Linked DNA regions of Homo sapiens: all the other regions are linked to region 2. Evidence: promoter capture Hi-C in 16 types of primary human blood cells and fetal thymus (Javierre and others, 2016). All regions are on one chromosome and are shown on one strand. Each heading gives the region's core, a stretch centred on a gene start or on the middle of the fragment in contact. The rest is flanking DNA. Distances are from core to core; before and after follow the strand shown.

Region 1 (4,848 bases), core at 256-2,755, 650 kb after region 2:
GAACCCAGGGGCAGAGGTTGCAGTGAACAGACATCACACCACTGCTCTCCAGCCTGGGCAACAGAGTGAAACTCCATCTCAAAAAAAAAGAAAAAAAAAAAAAAAAAAGAAGAAGACACTGTGAATCCAAAGTTGGAACCTAGGTCTGTCTGCTTTTTCCACAGCAACACACTATGTCTCAAGGCTCCACCCAAGCACACCGATGCAGTGTGTATCTGGGGTACAAACAGGAGAGGTCCTGAGTGGAGATGAGCCCCCAGAGGACTTCAGGTGGGGGATACAAGAGGATAGCAGCTGCCCTTCGTGCCCTGCCATTGATTTCTGTCTAGGTGAGCCAAGCATTAGTGTGAGGAAGCAGGATGGAGAGATACAGAAAGAGGAGGGGCTGGTGGGGCCAAAGGCTTATTTCAGTCTGGGACACTGTTCAAGGGGATAATGTCCACGAGTCACAGAAGGATTTGCGTTTCCACCATCACCAGACAGACAAACTGGCATGCACATCCCACGTGCTCTGATGACCAGACCCCACCCTCCTCACCTGAGACGTTACCACCCACGTAGATGGCTATCGTAACGGCCAGAGAGCCAGCCAGAAACATGGTGAAGAAGTTGCCTTTGGTTTCTCCACTGGTGACAGCCTGGGCCACAGCTCCTTGGGTGAGGAGCTGCTGAGAAGAGGAGAGATGAGGAACAGGGAGCCCAGGAGACCAACAGGGAGAAAGGTTGGGAAGGCCAGGGGAGCAGCCAAGGAGATGAATGAGCACAGAAGACAAGCAAGGGAAGGAGAAAAGCAGAAGGAGGGAAGGGAAAAGAAATGGGGAAAGTGGAGGAAGAAGAAAGGGAAAGAATGTGGGAAAAAAGAAAAGAATTTACCCAACTCATAGGCATTTGAGGGTACAAACCCATGGCAGGGCTCAGCTTTAAAAAGTCTTATCTAAGATTCTTTCTATGGAAGAGTTCCATCAAAGCCAATTTTAAAAGCCTATGTGAAAAATAATTATTCTTGCTGCACTTTATACAATCATCAGGCCAAGTATAATAAAGCACATTGGTCTTACCATGAAAATGGTCTTTCATAAAAATGGGAAACTGAAGAGAGAAAAATTATGTTTCAAGAACTATGATACACTTGTTATTAAAGAAAGAATAAAAATGACAAGAATAAAAATGATGAAGTAGGAGAGGAAAGGAGATTAGGAGAGACGAGAGGATAAAAACGAAAAGTGATAGGGAGTTGAGAGGAAGGGGGACACCAAGAGAAAGAGATAAGGACAACAGAAGGAGCCAGGAACTTTTGCCCAACCCCCTTCTTTCCTTCCCGCAGTGATCCTACCTACCATGAGTACAAACACACCCAGAAACTCTGCCAGGCACTGCCGGGCCAGGAGGCTGCGTATCCGGAGGTGGCCCATGATTTCAGCCGGGGCCTGAGTGAAGACCATGGTGGAAACACCCTATTGCTATTCACTGCTCCCTCTGTCTGCATAGGCACACTGTCACTGCACAGCTACTGCCTGCCTCCAGCAAAGATAAGGAACAGACTTTAAAACCATTAGCTCAGTTCCTGAACAGCAGCTACGTGTCTGTGCACGTGTGTAGGCTAGGAAACAGAGAGATAACAAGAGAATGTCTGGGAGCAGGCTATGAACACAGAGCCTGGAGTTTACCCAACCTCTGTCTCTTTTACCCTTCATTCCCAGTCATCACAGGACTAGCCTCCCCCATCCTGACAAATAGAAGGAAGTACCCCGCTTCATAGACATTAGATCTCTTGGTCCTGAAGTCAGCTCTGCAAAGTAGTACTATTGCTTCCATTCTACAGATGAGGCTAGTGGGCCTTAGAACTCCCCAAGATCAAACTTTTTTTTTTTTTTTTTCTGAGAGAGAGTCTTGCTCTGTCCCCCAGGCTGGAGTGCAGTGGCACCATCTCAGCTTACTGCAACCTCCACCTCCCAGGTTCAAGCAATTCTCCTGCCTCAGCCTCCCAAGTAGATGGGACTACAGGTCCATCACACCTGGCTAATTTTGATATTTTTTAGTAAAGACTTGGTTTCTCGGGAGGCCGAGGCAGGCAGATCACGAGGTCAGGAGATCAAGACTATCCTGGCCAACATGGTGAAACTCCATCTCTACTAAAATACAAAAAAATTAGCGTGGTGGTGCACGCCTGTAGTCCCAGCTACTCGGGAGGCTGAGGCAGGGGAATCACTTGAACCAGGGAGGCGGAGGTTGCAGTGAGCCGAGATTGTGCCACTGCACTCCAGCCTGGCAACAGAGCGAGACTTTGTCTCAAAAAAAAAAAAAAAAAAAAAGACGGGGTTTCACCATGTTGGCCAGGCTGGTCTCAAACTCCTGACCTCTAGTGATTCACCTTCCTTGGCCTCCCAAAGTGCTGGGATTACAAGCGTGAGCCACCGTGCCCGGCCCAAGATCACACAATTATTTCATGGCTGAGTGAATTCAAATCCAGATTTTCTGACTCTCCAGCTGGTAACCCACAAAGCCTCTCATTTAGAACCTGAAGCCTTACCCCAAACCATTTGGATGCTTGAAGAACTCAATAGGCATCTGGAAAGACTGGGCTAAAGACCACAGACTGTGGGAATGAAACTCACATATTGAGTGCTTGTACTTCCCTTATGCCGAGTGTCACATAGGTTAGAGAATACTCCATCTTTGTGTCCCCTGACATGGCTTGACATGAGGCCTTCACACTCATGCTGAGCTCCACCTGGCCTTCTCTGGGTGCATGCCACTCTTGCTCTGCATGAAGTAACCGCATCCTACTTCTTCATATCTCAAGGCTCCAATTAAATGCATTCAAAGAATCTACGTCTAGACACTGGAGAAACAGTGGTGAACAAAACATAGTCTCTGCCCTCCTAGAGCTTATGTTCTAGTAGGTGGAAACAGACAATATGCAACTTTTTAAAATACCATATACAGTTTATGAAGTTCTTGAGGGCTACCATTATGATTTATGTAACCCTGTGGGCTCTACCACTGTCCTGGGCACATCTGTGTGACTAGTAAAGAAATAATATTTCTTTACTAGGTTTAATGGATACTATAGTGCTCCACCCAGATTCCCCCTTGGGAGCCAATATGCCCATTCGCTACATGTAGGAAATACCAGCTGCTGATACCACATAGCTACCTCCCTCATTGGGCAATGCCCTTCAAGTCAGAAAGATGCCTCACCGAAGGTTACATGCCCTCCTATGGGGCCCATGTCAAACACTGATTGATGGAGGGATATAAAAGTCTAGCCTCTTTGCCTCACTTTGCGACAACTCTAAAGGGCTGTTCCAGCTCCAGTTCCCCCATAGGATCCATTTAGGCATCTGTTATATCATCCATGTGTGTCAGTTTCTCCTGGTGCCTAATCTTGTTACAGGAAAGGGGTCTGAATCCAGATCCCAAGAGAGGGTTCTTGGATCTCACACTAGAAATAATTCAGGCTGAGTGCGGCGGCTCATGCCTGTAATCCTAGCACTTTGGGAGGCCAAGGCGGGATCACAAAGTCAGGAGATTGAGACCATCCTGGCTAACATGGTGAAACCCCGTCTCCATTAAAAATACAAAAAAATTAGCCGGGCATGGTGGTGGGCGCCTGTAGTCCCAGCTACTTGGGAGGCTGAGGCAGGAGAATGGCATGAACCCGGGAGGTGGAGGTTGCAGTGAGCCGAGATCGCACCACTGCACTCCAGCCTGGGTGACAGAACGAGACTCCGCCTCAAAAAAAAGAAAAAAAGAATTCAGGGCGAGTCCATAGAGTAAAGTGAAAGCAAGTTTATTAGGAAAGTAAAGGAATAAAACAATGGCTACTCCATAGACAGAGCAGCCCCGAGGGCTGCTGGTTGCCCATGTTTATGGTTGTTTCTTGATGATATGCTAAACAAGAGGTGGATTATTCATGCCTCCCCTTTTTAGACCATATAGGGTAACTTCCTGTCATTGTCATGGCATTTATAAACTGTCATGGCATGAGCCACCATGCCCGGCCATGACCTGTATCTTATGGCAACCTCCTATCTCATTCTGTAACTTAGAATGCTTTAACCATCTGGGAATGCAGCCCAGTAAGTCTCATTCTCATTTTACTCAGCTCTTGTTCAAAATAGACTTGCTCTGGTTCACGTGCCTCTGACATTTCCCCCCTTCCTTTTATAAGAGAAGCACTAATCCTAAGGGTTGCAGAGGGACGAAGGTCCATCTTCTGTAAGTTCTTCAGGATGAATAGGGGCGATGATATTTTTGCCTAACTCTTAGAATCTCTCATATTCGTGGTAGAGAGGAGCTCAGTTGGAAAGTGTTGGTATGGGCCAGGCGGGATGGCTCATGCCTGTAATCCCAACACTTTGGGAGGCTGAGGCAGGCGGATCACCTGAGGTCAGGAGTTCAGACCAGCCTGGCCAACATGGTGCAACACTGTCTCTACTAAAAAATACAAAAAAAATAGCCAGATGTGGTGGCGGGTGCCTGTAACCCTAGCTACTCAGGAGGCTGAGGCAGGAGAATCTCTTGAACCTGGGAGGCGGAGGTTGCAGTGAGCCAAGACTGTGCCATTGCACTCCAGCCTGAAAGAATGAAACTCCATCTGAAAGAAAAGAAAAGAAGGGAAGGGAAGGGAAGGGAAGAAAAAGCATTGGTATCTTGAGGGCCATTCATAACTCATGAGTTCTGACAAAAGGTGATACTCTGGAAGATTCATAAGTGTTCAGTTTAAGGAAACATTCAGTAAGCTTGTCCTCCATTCCTATACAAAGATTACAACAGCTATACATTCCACAACCATAAAGCAAAATAAGTAAAATTATCCCAAGTAAACTAAACTAGAAGGCTTTC
Region 2 (4,753 bases), core at 802-3,301:
GCTTTCGCCATTTCCTGCCACTTCCCGCCCCTGTCCCCTCCTCCCAGTTGGGCTGCGAAGCCACACACAGCTTTTCCCCTACACCCAATCACCTGGACTTCCAGTAGGCAATCTCCTTTCTCCCTATGTAAATTTCAAGAGTCATACGTCTTTCTTTTCTTCCGAACGCCCACACCCGTTGGTCCTTCCCTGGCTCTGGATACTGTAGGCTCCCACAGAACATCATCTCTACAGATGAGGGACATCCTAGTGTGTGTTTGTGTGTTTTGGGGGTGTGAGGCTATGGTGGAATCCTTTCCTCATTCTCTCTATGCCCGAGAGCTGGCTGGAAATGAAGTGATAAAATTCCTTCTCAGGATTGGCTGGCAGAGTGACAAAGCTCTTCTGGAATGAGCACTAAGGGGAGATGTAAGAGTTAAGCACAGCATCTAACACACTTCAAGTGTTAATGTTGTTAATCAGGATAATTATCTATCTATATTTTAATTCTCTGAAGTAAATCTAAGGGTAATTCCAAGGTGAGCTGGGGGGAATACGTATTTTTTTTTTTTTGAGACGGAGTTTTGCTCTTGTCACCTAGGCTGGAGTGCAATGGCTCGATCTCGGCTCACTGCAACCTCCGCCTCCTGGGTTCGAGCGATTCTCCTGCCTCAGCCTCCTGAGCTGGGATTACAGGTGCCCGCCACCACGCCCAGCTAATTTTTGTATTTTTAGTAGAGACAGGGTTTCACCATGTTGACCAGGCTGGTCTCGAACTCCTGACTTCAGGTGATCCACCCGCCTCAGCCTCCCAAAGTGCTGGTATCACAGGTGTGAGCCACCGCGCCCGGTAGGAATACGTATCTTTGTTTTTTTTTTTTTGGTCACTTTCCAGCTTTGCCTGTGGCATTCTCCGGAAGAGCAGTGGCAGGAAGCCGTGGGTGGCAGGAATGGGTTTGGGACTGTTCCCTGTGTCCAGCTTCAACCCATCTTCTCCTGACACCCCTTTCTCCTGTACTTATTTTTCTCCTGTCCTTATTGACGCAGATGTGTCTTCTGATCTCTCTGTCCCTTCCTGGCCTGTAGTTTCTACTTCTCTTGGAGAACTGTTTCTTCCACCTCCTCCAGCCAGGCTCCTTCCCTGGTGTGAAGGATGCTGTGCTCTTTGGTGGGGCTTAGGGCCCTGTAAGAGGAGGGATGTGAATTGGGGTGGTTTGGAGTGGGAGTGGGGACCTGATTGCCTCATTCTCACCCTTGACAGTGTGCTGTGTTAACAAGCCCTGTGGAAAGGGGAGACAGGACAGTGCTTGGCTATGAGCCATCGGTCTTGGTGTGGTAGATGGCATACGTAGAGAACAAGCCGTGACCAGCATGTCCTCTTGTTCCCTTCTTGCCTGGTAGCTTCCTGATGTATCATCCAGGTTGAACTTTATTCCCCTTTTTTCACCAGCTTTGCTCTTCCTCTTGGCCCTGCTCTGCATCCATTGGGACCACTTACTTCCCATCCCCACTTCGCTAGCTCCAGTCCACAGCTGCTGTAGCAGAGGATGCTAATGGCCCAGGCTTACTGTATGGGGTAGCGGTTGGGGGTGGCCTGGGCTGGGGCCAGCCAGCTTTCGGGCATAGAGAGGGTGGGGGAATTCGAGTGTCCAACCAGGACAGGAAGGGAAATGCTGAGCTCTGAGATCTCCTCCCTTTTCCACCCCCAGCTGCCTCTGTTTCCTCCCTCATTCCCCTGTACTCCTGCCTGGCTTCCTGCCCCCTTTGGCCTGCGTGTGTCCGGTTTTGAGTGACCCAGACCTCCTATCTCCTTCCTTTCCGTCCCACTCTTCCATCCTTCCCTCCCACCCCCACTTTACTTCTCCCCAGATTACTAGTTGTTTGTATAGGGCAGGGGAGAGGGGCTTGGATAGCCCTACCCCCTGCTCCAGTTCGAGGTTGGGGCGGGGTGGGGGCTCAGCCCCTCTGAGCCTGTGAGTCAGCACTGTCCTCACGATTGGTCTCTCCCCTTAGCTCCCCGCCCCTGGGGAGGAGCCAGAAGCGCTGGGTCCAGCCTGTTCTCTTCTCAGCCAGAGAAGAGGCTCCACGTTGGGCGGGGATGGGGCCTGAAACTGTCTGGGTCTGAGCTGGGGAGCGGAAGCCACTTGTCCCTCTCCCTCCCCAGGACTTCTGTGACTCCTGGGCCACAGAGGTCCAACCAGGCTAAGGGCCTGGGGATACCCCCTGCCTGGCCCCCTTGCCCAAACTGGCAGGGGGGCCAGGCTGGGCAGCAGCCCCTCTTTCACCTCAACTATGGATCTCCTGCCCCCCAAGCCCAAGTACAATCCACTCCGGAATGAGTCTCTGTCATCGCTGGAGGAAGGGGCTTCTGGGTCCACCCCCCCGGAGGAGCTGCCTTCCCCATCAGCTTCATCCCTGGGGCCCATCCTGCCTCCTCTGCCTGGGGACGATAGTCCCACTACCCTGTGCTCCTTCTTCCCCCGGATGAGCAACCTGAGGCTGGCCAACCCGGCTGGGGGGCGCCCAGGGTCTAAGGGGGAGCCAGGAAGGGCAGCTGATGATGGGGAGGGGATCGTAGGGGCAGCCATGCCAGACTCAGGCCCCCTACCCCTCCTCCAGGACATGAACAAGCTGAGTGGAGGCGGCGGGCGCAGGACTCGGGTGGAAGGGGGCCAGCTTGGGGGCGAGGAGTGGACCCGCCACGGGAGCTTTGTCAATAAGCCCACGCGGGGCTGGCTGCATCCCAACGACAAAGTCATGGGACCCGGGGTTTCCTACTTGGTTCGGGTGAGTGAACATCCTCCTCTCCATTCCCCCGCAGACCCCCTCCAGTTCTAATGCTCACTCCAGCTTGGCCGGAATCTCTTTTTTCCTGCTGTTCCCCAACAACCCCGTTTCAGTGTCCTATTTCCTAAACCTTTCTCATCCCTTCCCCGATTCTGTAGCCCCTTCCCTTCCAGCTTTGCCTGGGCCCCCTTCCTTCTTTTCACTCCCCCACCCCCACCCTGGCATGCTTAGCACAATGCCCAGCATGGCAGAAGCTCTTAATAAGTGTTGGAATGAATGACTTCTTGATCTTTCCTCCATTCTCCTCCCGCTTTCTGGAGTTGTCACTCCATCCCAGCCAATGCCTGTCGGTCCCCTCCAAACTCTCTCCCCAGTGTGTGAGGTCCTTCTAGCCTGCCTTTTCTTTTTCTCCTCATTCCCTGTTGTCTTTCACCTTGGTTGTGGGATGTAGCCACGGGAAGTGGGCAGAACTTCTTCCTCTTTACTTCCCTTAGGGACCATATGGGTAAAGTCCTAGGGCCCTTTGTGAAGGGGCTGGGGTGGGGGAGCCGCTGACCTGCTGTCCTCTTCTCCCTCCCCTTAGTACATGGGTTGTGTGGAGGTCCTCCAGTCAATGCGTGCCCTGGACTTCAACACCCGGACTCAGGTCACCAGGTTAGTGGGGAGGGAGTGGATTGTGGGAGTCCTGGGATTAGTGAGGCCATGGGAAACAGAGGAGGGGAGTGGGTCACTTGGGTGCTGCTGCTGGGGGCTGATCTTTGCGTAGTAAAGGGGATTGAGAGAAAGCTGAGGTAGTGATTCCGCCTCTTACTGAAAGGAGGCCCCTTTGGCCCGGATCCTCCTTACCTATCCAGCCTTGGGAGTTGTGGGGAAGGTGGCAGAAGCAGCTGGCAGGTGGAGCTGGAGTAGAAAAGGGGGGTAGATGGAAGGTTGCTGCTGCCTTTGGGAAGGGAATGGGACATTTGGTAGCTGGAAGGGGGTGGGGCTATACCCATTGAGGCCCTAACCCAATCAGCCAGGAAGTGGCCTCTCAGTGTCATCAAATATTAAAGGCCCTTAATTCAATCCACCATGACAAAGAGCCTGGAGTGCCCTGGGAGTCTGGCCTGGCTTTCCCCTCCCCCAGCCCTGTGGCAGCCCCAGTTGAGTGGGAGGCAGGCAGGCAGGCGCTGGGTCTGAGTACCCCTCTTTCCCCAGGGAGGCCATCAGTCTGGTGTGTGAGGCTGTGCCGGGTGCTAAGGGGGCGACAAGGAGGAGAAAGGTACTTGGGGTCCTTGGGGATAGGGATGCTGCTGGGAAATGTGGAGGGGCAGTGGGGAGGCAAGTGTGGGGCATGTGGGGAGAGGGCCAGGAGGCAAAAGTGTGGTTTGCCTGTGCTGGGAACCCTCACCTTCTGAGACCCTGGGCCCTACCTTAGCCCTGTAGCCGCCCGCTCAGCTCTATCCTGGGGAGGAGTAACCTGAAATTTGCTGGAATGCCAATCACTCTCACCGTCTCCACCAGCAGCCTCAACCTCATGGCCGCAGACTGCAAACAGGTTGGTGAAGGTGGGCAGACGGACCAGAAACACTGATGGGGGTGCTAAGGGGAGATCTAGTTAGGAGGCCAAAATCTAGGAAGAGGGCTTGAGAGCAGGAGACCAGTAGGGAAGGAGGAAATGAGGATATGGGATAAGGAACCCAGAGAATGAGACTGGGGCACCAGGGTTCTGGGCCCTGAGGCTGCCTGACACATGGCATTCCCTTCCTTCTTCATCCCCTGCCCTAATTCTCAGATCATCGCCAACCACCACATGCAATCTATCTCATTTGCATCCGGCGGGGATCCGGTGAGTTGGGGAACAGAGCAAAGGCGGTGGGAGAAGAGCAAGGGGCTAGGGATTGGGAAGACATTGATTAGAGAAGTGGGGGTGCTAGGATTGTGGGGATATCTGAAAAGGACTGGGTTTTAGGGGTCAGGAGTAAAGTAGAACTGTAAAATTTTTTGA
Region 3 (5,010 bases), core at 2,212-4,711, 750 kb after region 2:
TCTCTGGAAAATAATTCCAACACACTGCTTTTACAGGTGCTTCTCTTGGTCTCCTAGTCCACATTTTCAAGAAACCAAAATGGCAATTACCCTCCACCACTCACCTTAATATACAGGGAATCTCAAATTTGTCTCAAACCAAAAGCATCTAGCACAAAGTTTTATTTGGAAGAAAGTGCTTCTAAGAAATCATTTTAAACTTGAGACCTTAATGCTGGCAAGATGACTTAGTTGAGTCTTTAAAGAGACACAGAACACACAGGGCCTTCCCCAAACCAGAATATAGTTTTTGTTACAAGACTTCTAACAAGGAAGGATTCTACTGAATTCAAGTTCCTTTAGTTCATACTTTGTTTTATAATACAATCTCAGCTGCTGCATTTAGTAAAAAAGAAAACATTAATCATATGATAGAGTGTTCAAAATAATAGGTTACTCTGCATTTATTCCCTTCCAAAGAGGGTAAGTTTATACTTTTCTGCTCTATATTTAATTTTTCTTGTTAATGAAACCTTATACAACGTAATTCTAGACTGCCCAGAGATATTACTGGATTTGAGTGGGAGGAAGGACTTCTAAAGAAATATGCAAGGATTAACTATTAGGGAAGTGAATTTCATCTGACTTTCTTGGATGTCACAGAGAAAGCTGACTTTTTCTGTGCATAAATTCTTCACCAAGTTGCGTCAATAGGTTGCATAGGTCTTTGTATCAAGAAAGATTTTTTTAAGGTAGCTTCTCAGGTAATTTTTAACCCATTACCTCTTCCCCCTACACATATTGGCACACAAAAGCCCATAAGTATTTCAAGCTAGAAAGGATTATTTGCTACACAGTAGCCCATTTTCCCAGGTTAGCATTATAGTCGTTTCAACTTTACAAAAAAAAAAAATGTTTAACCAAGTACCCCGAATCCAAATCAACAAGACTACATATACACATATATACGTATATATATAAAGACGAGAGGAAAACTATTTTGTTTTAAAATTGGCTCTAAGATGAAGTTTCTAATATGGCATAGTCATTTCCAACCCACTACTGTAACTTACAAATATTGACTGTTTTCTACTCCACATGTGATATCTATTTGTGAGGATAAGTTATATTGCAGGTATAAACTGCATGACTAGCTATACACTATTGCATATACTGTACCAGTCAGATGTAAACATATTAAAAAGTCATCTTGAAAGATATAATTAACCAAGAAAGAAAAAAATTCTCCTAATCACTCTTGCTAGTAACATTTCCCTCTTACAAGTGCTTCGAAATGTGACTAAGAAAATTTTTACCACCTAGTAGTGACAACACTGAGCAACAGGTCAAAAGTAAGTGATCTGGAATGGATCACTTGAGGGCACAGAATTAGTAGCAAGCAGACCCATTCCCAGCTATCACACTGGAGATGAAGAATCTTGTTACTTACTTGCTCTTTCTTAGAAAATAAAAAGATTTAAAGGAAGTAGGGTGAGAAGTATTGGAGACCAAGGAAATCGTGCGAGAGTAAACAGAGGTTTCAACACAGGAGTGCCCTTGACTCTTTTTTGAAAACTAGCTACTTAAAAAAATAGCCAGAGAAATTTCACTGAAAAAACTAAATAACAAATATTTATTGAGAATCTACTATGTGTCCAATACTTCAGGAAAATACAAAAGCAGTATGACTTAGTAGCTGCCCTCAGGGAGCTTACAATCTAATTTAAGAAACAATTCAGAAACTGAAGCTAGACTGAGTTGGGTAAAATTTGCTACCTCTAACAGAACAACTAATTTCTGTAGATGCTTTGTTGAAATGGCCCCTGCATCCCCTTCCCCACCACCTTGATATCTAGTTAGTAAGAGTACTTCCCAGTTAGGACATAGCAAGGAGGAGCTTTAAAGATGAAAAACAAAACAGGACATTTTTAGGCCTTTCATCACTAGTTTATGTGCCAGCAATATTTCCCATTCACAAAGGAAACAATCATTGAGATAGTCTAATCTTTAAGGACAATGGTGTCAGATCTCAAAGCAGTTTTATCAACTGATACACAGCCAAAATGTTTTAATTCTCTGTAATCATTGGGATAGTCTAATCTTTAAGTACAATGGAGACAGATCTCAAAGCAGTTTTATCAACTGATACACAGCCAAAATGTTTTAATTCTCTAGAAACGCTGGTTACTAGTAATGTCCATCACCTCCCAGCAAGTCACATCAGGTATCCCCAAAACAGGATATGCGGCGGAGGAAGGTAGGATGGGAGAGAAGACAAAAAAAAAGGATTTCTCCATTTAATAATCAGGGAGAGTCAAAGGCAAAAACGTTAACAATAATAACAAAAACGCCTGTTACTGTGGTGTTTTTCTTTCCACAACATCCTACACCAGAGGTGGCTACATTTCAAGAATGGTGGAAAAGGAGCAGTCTCCAGTTTGTGACATCAGTTTGCAAAGCAATTTAAGGGCTGTCCACAAGGTTAAGGGTTTGAAGAAACTGGGCATTCCTGTACCATTATGAGAAGAGTGAACAAATACCCCAGTGCTCTAGTGACGTCCCTTAAGCGTAAATACACCCTATGGGGGCCTCCATGTCCAGCTTCCCAAATAACACAATTGTTTGGGGTACCCAAACTACAGTATAAACAGGAAGCTAAAGACAGCAGCAAAAACATATTCCAAGAACTGGGTTGGTGAGAAAGAAGGGAGGGTAATAAGAGGAGCTGACAAAGAGCCTGGAAACGGAGAGGGGACGCAAGCCCACGGGTGGAGGATGGGAGGCTCACCCCCCTCAGCGCCACATCGAGAGCCCACGGGGCCAATCTCCTCCCTACCTCCCAGCCGGAACAAATTAATCCTTCGCACACCAAACTGAGGGCCACATGGGGGAGTTTGGGGGAGCTCCACCCCATCGCCCTCCCTCCCCCACGCCACCCCCAAACCAGGCCGGATCCGGATCAGAGGAGGCCCGCAGTGGGTGGAAAGGGAGGAGGCCCTCTCCTCCGCAGGCACCGGCCGGGGTGAAGAGAGAGCCCTACCTCAGGCAAGGCCCAGGCCTCGCTCGCTCGCGCTCTTTCTCGCTCTCCCCTCTCAGGCTCTAGCCGCATGGCCCCCCCTTCCTACGGCTGCTCCAAGCCCCGCCCCGGCCACGCTCCCAAATCGAGGCCCCGGCTCTGGCGCGGCCCACTAGGCCGCGAACCCAACCATAAACAAAACCTCCGGGGGCCGACTCGAGGTGGGGGGCGCCAGGGCTCGCATGACTCGGGGGGGGGTGTACAGTGGGGGAACACACGGTGTGGGGGGGCCTACCGAGGGAGGGGATACGGCGGGGGCAGGGGAGAAAAGAGGGAGGGTAAAAGGGGGATCGCGGATTTAAAGGGGCCGCGGACAATACCCGGCCCCGCCGCGCTGCCGCTGCCGCCGCCGCCGCCGCCAACGCCGCTGCGCTCCCAACTTTACCTCAGTCTCCTCCACACTGACACCCCGGGCCGCGCCGCCCCTGTCACGTGATATAAGATTCCCTCTTCCCCACCCCCTCCCTCCTTTTCCCTCTCGCGCTCGCTCTCGCGCCTTCCCCCGCCCACTTGCCTTCCTGCGTCCCTCAGCGCGTGACGCTAAAAGGGGCGCGCACGCAAGCGTGCGCGTGCCGCCTCGCCACGAGACACCTCTTTCCGGCTCCGCGAGTCCACCCCGCCTCCTTCACGGCGGCCCTGCCTCCACCACGTGACGCACGGATGGCCGCCGCTTCCTCTTACTGTCGTAGTTCCGCGTCTGAGCGCTCGACGCTCCTGGGTGCCATTGCCTGCCTGAGTCACGTGTCAGGGGGAAGCTGGAAGGCGTCGTTCTCCTTTCCCAGCTCTCCTGCCTGTCCGCCATGTTTTCAGGCCGGGTCTGGCTTGGTCTTCCCCCGTAAGGAAATGGCCGGGGAGCTCCAGGGGACCCAGGCGCCGTCGCTTCGGCGGAGCCTGGGCTGACCAGCCAGGACAGCGGGGTAAACCCGAACAATTCTGCGCGAGGTAGGGAGGCCATGGCGTCCGGCAGTAACTGGCTCTCCGGGGTGAATGTCGTGCTGGTGATGGCCTACGGGAGCCTGGTGAGGAGATTACCCCACCCCATTCCTGCTGTCGCATCTTACCCAGTAGAGACCCTCCTTTTGAGCTGTACCCCGTCTGCATTCTCCACCCACTCACCTGCGCCTATCCGGGCTTTGACTCCTTATTCCAGGAGTAGGTGGGAGTTTAAGTCACTTAGTCGGGCCGACCCGCCCTCGTTAGTCTAGAACCCTCCCTTTAACGCTAGAGCACAGACCCCACGCCTCCCTGCTGCTGGCTTCTTAGATCCACCCCCATCATAACGGCCTTGCTTTGCCCCAAGTTTTACCCTGAAACATTCCTGAGAGCCGGAATCTGGGGATTTGGAATGAAGGCATGCTTTTTTAAAAAAAAAACAAAACAAAACTGACTTTTTATTAAAGGATTTTTACATCTTTTTGGACAGGTGTTTGTACTGCTATTTATTTTTGTGAAGAGGCAAATCATGCGCTTTGCAATGAAATCTCGAAGGGGACCTCATGTCCCTGTGGGACACAATGCCCCCAAGGTAGGTCCTTAGGGCACAAGTTAAACATACTTCTCCAGATCTTTTAGGGTCAAGAATGAGATTTCCTCTGCCTTTAGTGATGACTTTAATTCTCATGTTTCTTTGCGTGCACTTGTCCTTGTACTTACTAAGTTGAGCAGGCACTGTGCGCTTTGGAACTTGGCTTACCTGCTCAGTGCTGTGGCAAGCATGTGGCTCATCCTGGAACTTCTGTTTTTGTATCTGCAGAATGAAGGGCTTGGGTCGAAGTTCCCAACTGTTTGTAGTAAAATATTTCCCAGCTCATCTTAAACTACCCAGTGTTTTTTGTTTGATTAGGATGGGGTTGAGATCATTAAGGTTAACCCAAGAGCAATGAGAAGGGTTACCTTTACATAATTTTAGACTTAAGAGGAGCTCCATAAATCATCTAATTCCACCATTCATGTTA

The links. Contacts are between HindIII fragments. The CHiCAGO score rates a contact against its expected background, and 5 or more counts as called.
Region 1: a contact is called between the fragment with the promoter of AQP10 here and the fragment with the promoter of SHC1 in region 2, in 1 of 17 cell types (non-activated CD4 T cells). The highest score is 5.3, in non-activated CD4 T cells.
Region 3: the fragment with the promoter of UBAP2L here is called in contact with the fragment with the promoter of SHC1 in region 2 in 1 of 17 cell types (neutrophils); the score reaches 5.4 in neutrophils.

Annotation. Positions count from the first base shown.
Region 1 is chr1:154,317,750-154,322,597 of GRCh38, reverse strand. It overlaps AQP10 (aquaporin 10), which reads right to left and starts at 1,505. Exons shown (of 6, transcript NM_080429.3): 1 at 1,338-1,505; 2 at 539-665. The coding sequence starts at 1,442. RefSeq lists a silencer at 1,535-1,726. The HindIII fragment of the contact is 12,155 bases long and covers 1-4,747 here.
Region 2 is chr1:154,968,045-154,972,797 of GRCh38, reverse strand. It overlaps SHC1 (SHC adaptor protein 1), which reads left to right and starts at 2,051. Exons shown (of 12, transcript NM_001130040.2): 1 at 2,051-2,766; 2 at 3,350-3,420; 3 at 3,964-4,027; 4 at 4,184-4,303; 5 at 4,541-4,594. The coding sequence starts at 2,272. RefSeq lists enhancers at 2,173-2,723, 2,724-3,274. The HindIII fragment of the contact is 11,130 bases long and covers 1-4,753 here.
Region 3 is chr1:154,219,406-154,224,415 of GRCh38, reverse strand. It overlaps UBAP2L (ubiquitin associated protein 2 like), which reads right to left and starts at 3,461. Exons shown (of 27, transcript NM_014847.4): 1 at 3,441-3,461. LTAP1 (lipid transport auxiliary protein 1) reads left to right here and starts at 3,826. Exons shown (of 7, transcript NM_001098616.3): 1 at 3,826-4,074; 2 at 4,479-4,580. The coding sequence starts at 4,009. RefSeq lists silencers at 3,288-3,437, 4,298-4,367 and enhancers at 2,958-3,705, 3,688-4,127, 3,706-4,453. The HindIII fragment of the contact is 10,463 bases long and covers 1-5,010 here.